2 separate regions of the Homo sapiens genome follow, and region 1 is linked to region 2. The links are contacts of gene promoters, found by promoter capture Hi-C in human tissues and cell types (Jung and others, 2019). All regions are on one chromosome and are shown on one strand. The core of a region is centred on a gene start or on the middle of the fragment in contact, and the rest is flanking DNA. Distances in the headings are between cores, read along the strand shown.

Region 1 (4,588 bases), core at 27-2,526, 710 kb after region 2:
TCAGGGTACCCTAGAGGGTGAGGCTCCCTGTGGTGACACAAGTGGGCCAGAGTTCCAGACACTGAGTGGCATCCTCCAGGGCAGTGGGGTACAAGCTGGCAGAGCTTGCCATCCCTCGAGGCACATAATTTCCCAATTTTAGCTAAGCAGCACTGCCTTGGTTAGCTCTCAGTGGCCCCACTGCCTGGCATTCTCCACCCGCCCATGGCAGGTGGCAGTGAGCCCAGACCTTAGGTATTGTCTTGCCCTAACACTCCAAGTGTGGCTGAAGTGAGCAAGGAGGAGGACTGCTGCAGGAACACCATCAACCCAGCACCCTGCCCCCGTCGGTACCTACCAGGAACAGGGCTGTAGGGGGGCCCAGGGGCTCGGCCCCCTGCTGGAATCATGCTTTTCATCCACTTGGCTTCAGCCGGGTGGTTAAAGCGAAGGAAGGTGGACTGACCCAGGCACAACATGCAGCCTGCAGAGAAAGCAAACACTTGAAGACCAGGTGTGGTGGCTCACACCTGTAATCCCAACACTTTTGGAGGCGGAGGAGGGTGGATCACCTGAGGTCGGGAGTTGGAGACCAGCCTGGCCAATGTGGTGAAGTCCCGTCTCTACTAAAAATACAAAAATTAGCCGGGTGTGGTGGTGGACGCCTGTAATCCCATAATCCCAGCTACTCAGGAGACTGAGATCAGAGAATAGCTTGAACCCAGGAAGCGGAGGTTGCAGTGAGCTGAGATCATGCCACTGCACTCCAGCCTACATGACAAGAGCTAAACTCTGTCTCAAAAAAAAAAAAAAAAAAAAAAAAAAAAGAAAGGAAGAAAGAGAGAAAACACTTGGAAGGGCAGGCAGGACTGAAGTTACCCCACCTCACAGCACTAGCAGGCTCACCTCAGCTCTAAAGACCCATCCTCATCTGCTCTCAGAGTCCACACAGTCCACACCTGACCTTGCCTGTGCTTGAGATGGGCACCTCCAGGGCTCCGCAGCACAAGACAGAGTAGAAAAAGCACTGGTGAGTGAGTCCCAAGATCTGAGTCCTCGTCCTAATTCCTCTTCTTACTAGCTGTGAGATCTCTGGGTGAAGTAACTTCACCTCTGAATCTAGTTCTCTTAATCAGAAAAATGGGGACAATACCACTGATCTTGTAGGGTTAATAAGACAGTGTATGTGAAAGTACTCTGTAAAAATATATTCAGAGAGGCCAGGCATGGTGGCTCACACCTGTAATTCCAGCATTTTGGGAGGCCAAGGCGGGCGGATCACCTGAGGTCAGCAGTTCGAGACCAGCCTGGCCAACATGGTGAAACTCCGTCTCTACTCAAAATACAAAACTTAGCTGGGGGTGGTGGCGTGCGCCTGTAGTCCTAGCTACTTGGGAGGCTGAGGCAAGAGAATTGCTTGAATCCAGGAGGCAGAGGCTGCAGTGAGCCGAGATCACACCACTGCACTCCAGCCTGGGCAACAGAGCGAAACTCCGTCTCACACACACACACACACACACACACACACACACACACACACACAAATGTTCAGAGAACACAGACACACCTGTCCCCCAACCCCAGCCTGTATCCATGATCCATCTATCTGCCCCTTGGGTAGAAGGGTAGAAGAGTCAGTCTGAGAGGCAGCAACTTCCAGGGTCACAAAAAAAAACTGAGATAGGGAACAAGGGGAAAAACCATGGATCAGTCAGATGAACCGGGGGGGTCCTGAATTTGCTCCCACTCTTTCTTGTTTTGTGACCTTAGGAGAGCTGTGCACTGCAAGTCTAGGGAGCGACCACCACCTTTCTTTCTGACTAAGCACCCTCTGCATGCTCCCTGGTCTCCCCTGGCATCAGGCCAAGACTAGGCCACCAGGCCCGGCCTCAGCCAAGCACATTCCCAGGCAGTAGACACAAGCCCAGTCCTGCCCGGGAAGTGTGAGTACCTGGAGGGGGAGGGCATGTGGGAGCTGGAAAATGTAGCCAGGGGCACCTGGAGTGTGCACAGTGGCAGATGTGCCCACAGGCGCCTAACTGTAGCTAGCAGAACTCCACCTCCCAGCCACACCAGGTGCTGGAGGGCTACTGCAGAAGATACTATGTTGGGAGAAGCCAGAGCCCTGTTGCTCTCTACCACCAATCCTTCCAATTTGTCCACACCCCTGGCCCCCGGCCTCAGCCTCCTGTCTACCCAATCTGGTGCCACTTGGCACCCCAAGCTTCACGCCAGTCTGAGCTAAGACTGGCAGAGAAGTCTACATTCCTGGACGCTGAGACAGTTCAGCTCAGGCAGGCCGCAAGGGCAAGAGGCATCCCAGGCCACGTGAGTACCTTGGCAGGTCCCTTACTGAGAAGCTCAGGAGCCTGTTCCTGGGATCCTGGGCATTGCTTGGGTTGGGGGTTTAGTAGGCTGAGAAGCCCATGGCAGATAACCATAGTGGATAAAGCCACTCACTATCCTGGCATACACAAAGGCCCTCCCAGGCAGCCAGACACCAACAATTCTAAAGGAGAGAGAGGGAGCCTTCCCTGCCAAGTCACCAATCAGAGAAGAGGATCCCAGAGTATTCAAAACTGGAATAAATAATAGCCAACCACACTGTCCACCTAATTACAACCACAGCTGTTTCAGAAAGAGCCCTGTCAAGCCCCTCCCCCTCCATTTAGCCATTTAACAAGCCTACTGGTGATGAGTTCACAGGGTCTAGACAGAGCCACTCAACCCAGGGTCGTGGGTGGTAGGGATCAGGAGCCTGACCACACAGTCCAGGCTGGGAAGGAGGCAGGGAGTCTGAGTGGATTCCAGCCCAGCAGTCCCAGGCCCACCCAAGTAGGATGTAGGCATCTAGGGATCCTCTGCCTGGGCCCCTATAGCTGTGTGTTTTCTGCCCCCTCCTCAGCCCTTCACCCTCCCCGGCATAAGGGGGTGTGGCCATGCTGCCTCTGGGCTATAAATAGTGATGCCAGGCAGCAGAGCTGGATCCGTATTAATAGAGCGGGCAGGAGGGCAGCAGGACTGAGAGCAGCCCAGCTCCTGCCCAAATTAACTTTCTATTTGCATGCAGAAGCTTCAGGCATTGCCCTGATGCTGGCCCCTACAGCCCCCAGGGGTCTGGCCAGCCTGTTTCTGGGAAGAAGCCTCCTCTCTGCCCACTCCCACCCCAACCCGCAAAGGCCAGCCCTTTCAGGGAGCCCAGGAATCCCTGCCCATCCTGCCAAAGTCATGATCAGTGTCCCCCATGCCCAGGGGGGATCAGGGTCCAGCTGTGTGCAGGTGGGTGGAGGAGCTGCACATCTGGAGGGGAAAAACTGGGCGAAGGAGAGGGTGAATCCTATCTGTGAGAGATGCAGAGGAGAAACACCAACACAAACAGGCTCACACTCATACACACTCATAGTAACACAACAGACTTATGGGCGTACATGCTCACACACTCTCAGAGCTACTGTCACTGCCCTCCTGGTCACACAAATAGAATGGATTGTCCAAAGGGAGACCGAGTGAAGGGAATATGGGAGGAAGGGCCTTGGTCCTTCCTATCAGAGACCCTCCTTGGCCATAAGGTAGACTCCCCTCATTCTAACCAGGACTCTTTAACCCCATCTGAGGGAGGTGGGTCCTAAGGAGGGGACTGCCGGAGCGCTGGAGAAGATAAGGTCTACCGGCTGAGAAGTGCCCCCAAGCCCAGAATCCCCATTTAGAAATGTTCAGGGAACACACACAATCGAGTCTCTCAGCCTCAAGCTCCCAAAGAAGGTCAGAGGACCCCATGCACCTCCTCCCGCCCACCCTCCTCAAGACGCCCCTCCCAGTCTGAGCTTCTCCAAGCTTGGCTGCTTGGGGACTGTGGCTGGCCCGGGGCTGAGGACTCACCGCCGAAACCGGACCTCCGGACCGCTCGCCCCCGCTAGCTCGGGCCCTCCAGGTCCCGGGCCCGCCCGGAGCCTTTGAGGGGGCGGGCCGACCTCCCGAGCTGCCGGCTCTAGGCTCGGAGCGAGCAGCGAGGCAGCGAGCAGCCGCCAATGCCCGGGGAGGGGCGGGCCGGCCACCAGCGGCGGGGGAAGGGAGCCAGGGAGGGAGGGACAAAGGAGAGGAGGAGGGGAAGAGGAAGTGATGGAGGAGACGAGTGGAGAGCTGGATGGAGAGGGCGGGGCGGGAGGATGCAGAAAGGGAGCCGGCTTGGGATCCTGCATCGAGGGCAGGAAGAAAAGTGGGCGGGAAGGAAAGGTTCAAGGGAGGTGACTGAGTGAAGGAAAGGTGAGAGGTAAGTACAGAGGCCAGAGTGAAGAGCCAGGAGGCAGGAGTGAGGCCAAGCAAAGGACAGGTCTCATTCCCAGCCCCCTGTGGTAAGAGGTCAGTGGCAGCTGGGCTGGCCGGCCCTGACTGGCTGTAGTACCTTGGGCCAGTCACACCCTCTGGCCTCGGCTTCCTTATCTACAGAAAGTCAACTCTGACATTCCATGGGTCCATATCTGAGAGAGAGAGGGAGAGGAAAAGAGCAGGGGCTCTACAGGATCCAGCTAGGTCACTGGGTCCTGCTCTGGCCCTCAGGCTGCCACTGTAACAAGGTCACCCTGGGCTGGGAGTTCAGGCCAAAGCAGTG
Region 2 (4,073 bases), core at 209-2,708:
GCCAGGCCTCTGAGCCCAGTGCTAGGCGAGAGAGCCGCATGACATCCTCTCGAAGACGGTGGTAGGATGGCCGGGCATGGAGCTGGCTGAGTGCCTGGGTAGCCAGCCTCAGGGTGAAGTCCGGATGCAACACAGTCACCGTCACTGCCAGCACACAAGCTAGCAACACCAAGCCAGTGAGATTGACAAGCACAAAGCTGGCCAGGAGGCGGGCAGCTGAGGCCAGCAGCTCCAGGGCTAGTTGGCAGGGTGTCCAAAGGAGGATGGCCATGGCCACAGCACTGCTGGAAATGTGGGCTAGGAAGGCAGCCACTACGTCCGTCATCCTCCACAGAGGCCCGGTCACTGCATCCCACAGGGCCAGCACCAGGGAAAAGAGGTTCTGAGTGCCGATGAGGCAGATGTTGACCAGGCTGTTGATCACATAAGCCACCAGGCTCATGGCAATGGCACAGATGTCACAGGCCTGGCGCAGCAAAGCATGGCCACTGGAGACCACATTGAGGACGCCCCGGTGCAGTATCTCCCTGCTCCGCAGTGCCCCATGAGAGGCCAGGTGCCCCAGGAGCTTTAGGCTCTCTAGGCCAGAGCAGCAGCTATACAGCAGAGTACACAAGGCCTGCAAGCCCCCACATGTGAACCGGACCACGGCTTCGATCAAGGCCAGCAATGAAAGCAAGACTCCGCGGCCCAAGTGCAGAAGACTAGTCAGTACCGTGTGCGGCAGGTTGTAGACGAAGGCCAGGAGCCAGGCCAGGGAAGCCAGGAGGGAGGACACCAGCAGGAAGTTGAGGTCCAACACCAAGGTCAGCACGTCCAGCACCAGGCCCAACCCATTCACTACCAGGTACACTGCCTCCATGATAGGGCTATGGAAGTTAGTCCAAAACAAAGTCTGGCTCCTCGGTTGGGGGGTTGTCAAGGTTGTCAATATTTTAGGGGGTCTGGGATTAATTTGGAAGGAAAATGAGCAGTCTCCAACCCAGGGGGTACCAAGAATCTGAGGAAGAAGTGGGTAAGACGGAAGTGGAGTCTTGGTAGAGGGAAAGGTGGCCAGGTGCCAGTCCAAGAGTCCAGGTTTTGAAGATGGGCTGTTTGGGAGGGAAGAGGCCAAACATCTCTAAAGCGAAGGCGAGCCCAGGCCGTAGGAGCGACCTCAGCTTTGGATGCCTGGTGTGGCGAACCACGGCCGGGCAACGGGTCAGACCGGGAGGAGACGAGGAACGGATGGAATGGGATCGGATCGGATCGGGTCGCGTCGGGTCGGGCCGGGGCCGGGTGGGGTCGATGTAAGCTGGGCGCAGGCTCTCAGTCCAGCTACGCAGGTGCCCCTGTCCCCGCCCGGCCCCCGTCTTCCCGCTAGCGGCGCTTTGCACCCAAAAGGGGAGTGGGAGAGGCAGCCAGCTTCAGCAAACCCCAAGCGCAGCCCCTACTCCGCTGGGCGCCGCCATCTTGTGTGCAAAGGGGTGGAGCCAGAGGCGTGACGAGGAGGGAGGGACGACAAACTCCAGCCAATCGGTGAAGGCCAACCACAAAAACGTCGATCACTCATTGGTCCGTTTGAATGGCGCCCGAACGTATTTACTTTCCAAAGGGAAGGAGAGGCGACAGATTAAATCCCCTCCCCCTTTAGGCGGGGATTGGTTCGTTGGCGGGCAGCGTCGAAATACGCTCTCCTAGCCCCACCCTCTAAAAGAGCAGGGTCTTGGACTCCCCTCAATTTGGGAGCTGTTCTTTCTCCCGGCCTCTGAACGCGAGGTTTTTTTTTTGGCTTGGGTCGGAGGTCACTGCCTCTGGGCTGGGCTTTGGAATAGCACCGCCTTCGCAGCCTGCCCAGATCCGTCTCCTCATTCTCTTCTATTTATTCATCTATTCTATCATTTATTGAACTCCTACAGTGCATTGAGGATACAAAAAAATTTTAAGACAGTGCCTGCTGTTCACAAGGGAAAGCAGATTATTACAGGGGATTCCCAAACTGCTATTCCAAACTTTCCTCACCAGGTTTTTCAACATCTCGGAAGATTACTTCATTGTCATTGAGAAAAAGGGGCTACAGATTTAGAAACCGCTCAGCTTCCTACCCTGGGCCTTCCTACCCTAGAGTGCAGTGGCGCGATCTCGGCTCACTGCAACCTCTGCCTCCCGGGTTCAAGCGATTCTCCTGCCTCAGCCTCCCGGGTAGTACAGGTGCCCACCACCTCACCCGGCTAATTTTTGTATTTTTAGTAGAGACGAGGTTTCACCATGTTGGCCAGGCTGGCCTCGAACTCCTGAACCTCGTGATCCACCCGCCTCGGCCTCCCAAAGTGCTGAGATTACAGGCGTGAGCCACCAAGCCCGGCCCTGCCCTTTTCTTTAATACTCAAACAATAGTCAAAATATATTTGAAACCCCATCCCAAATATATTGGGAATCCTGGCGTTTTCTACTAACTCCAAGGATGCTTAGCAGACTCCTAGTGGACTTATCTTTCCCCTGGTCACCTTTGCTGAATTTCCTACTTGAGTTGAATTCTCCATCTCCACTCCTGGGCTCCTGAAAGTGTCCGTCCTCCTTCAGTCTGCCCTGAACACTGCCTCAGAGTCCTTCATTCTCCAAAGCATCACTGATAAGAAGCTGAGGTGTGCAGCAAACCTTTACTGAGGCCTTGGGATCGTGGTAGGGGTACGCTATAGTGCAGAGGAAGGACTGCAGTCGCTGAAACTCCTCTGGCTTCTTCCTACCCTTTCTCTCTCCCTGCTCTCAGGCCCTGGCCAGGTTATGGTTTGTTGTGTTGTGATGTGTTGCTGATGTTTTTATTTTCCTACTCGCATCCTCCCGCCAGTGTCAAATCTTGGAGAATGTGCCCACCTCCCTTTCAAGACAGTTGATCCCATCGCCCGTACCATCTCCTCTTAAGGGATCTTATTTGTCCAGTGAACACTATGTTGTTATTAATCAATCTTCCTCCAGCACTTGACACCACTTCCTCCACCCTTGGCCTCAGAATCATTACCCTTTCCTATATTCTTTCTGTTTCCATCATAGCCTCCTCTCCTGTATACACGATGATTTCTGAATTTGTGTCTTCAGCCTGAACCTGTCCTGCAAACTTCAGGCTCCAGCTGCTTCCTGGACATGAACGGTTCATGGGTATCCCACTGGTGCTTCCTACACAATATGTCCAAAGTCAAACTTGGCAAACGTGCTGTGCCTGCACTGCGTGCAATTAACTGGCCAGTTTTCCACACCAAGAAGCATGTAAAGTCCTTCTCAGAGTTGGCAGGATCCTCTAAGAGAGAATTTCCATTCGTTTAGGACCAAGACCTCCCCTTTGAGTGATTTGAGACTCACTAATCCAAAGCCCTCTTTAATGAGCCACAACCCTTGACTCCCAGGAAACCTAGCAGGTAATCCTGCTTTGGGCAGGGACAAAGACTCCAACTGGCTTTGGGGAGGCAGTTCAAATTGTTTGACAATGTTAGTCCCAGGGATTGAGAAGAAAATAAGCCAGATATTGAGAAAGCTGAACACCTAGAAGCCCTATCCTTGCAGTATTTTCTAATGGAAGATGTAGTGTAAAGCCCTCTGGAGGCCTGCTCTGGTGGCAGCTGGTTTCTGCTGTTGTGCTAACTTCAGGGGTTTTTTTGTTTAGTTTTGTTTTGCTCAGCGTAAGATTCTAGCTGGGACAATAGAAGGGATTTTTAGAGACTATGAAGGACTGAGGATTAAGAGATTGGAAAAACCAGAAAAGAATGTCTAATTCAGGGGTTTTGTTTTGTGCTATTGTGTATATTACGGCCCTCCCCATCGTCTCCTCATCAAGCATTCAGTAAAATCTATATTATTGCCATGTTTTAGGTTGGTTTTTTTTATTTTGTTTTTTAATTATGCAAATCATTTACAGGGTCCCAAAGTCAAAACTTTATAAAAAGATACAGTCACAGAAGGTTTGCTTTCATCCTTGTACCCTCCACCCTGTTCCCTCCCAGTGCCACCCAAGCTTGAGAGGACCCCAAGTATTACAAACATAGACAACAAATGTCTCCATAAAGGAGCACCTGGGTCCTCTATCAGTCAGGATCCAGTGC

Evidence for each region. Contacts are between HindIII fragments. The study calls those that stand out against the background at their distance.
Region 1: a fragment that was not itself captured here is called in contact with the fragment with the promoter of RNF26 in region 2 in 1 of the 25 tissues and cell types used here (dorsolateral prefrontal cortex).

Annotation. Positions count from the first base shown.
Region 1 is chr11:118,620,809-118,625,396 of GRCh38, reverse strand. It overlaps PHLDB1 (pleckstrin homology like domain family B member 1), which reads right to left. Exons shown (of 23, transcript NM_001144758.3): 5 at 338-463. Among named protein-coding and RNA genes, the nearest start is that of PHLDB1, 15 kb to the right of the region's middle. RefSeq lists a silencer at 3,961-4,050. The HindIII fragment of the contact is 8,405 bases long and covers 1-4,588 here.
Region 2 is chr11:119,331,912-119,335,984 of GRCh38, reverse strand. RNF26 (ring finger protein 26) reads right to left here and starts at 1,458. Exons shown (of 1, transcript NM_032015.5): 1 at 1-1,458. The coding sequence starts at 862. RefSeq lists an enhancer at 925-1,816. The HindIII fragment of the contact is 13,723 bases long and covers 1-4,073 here.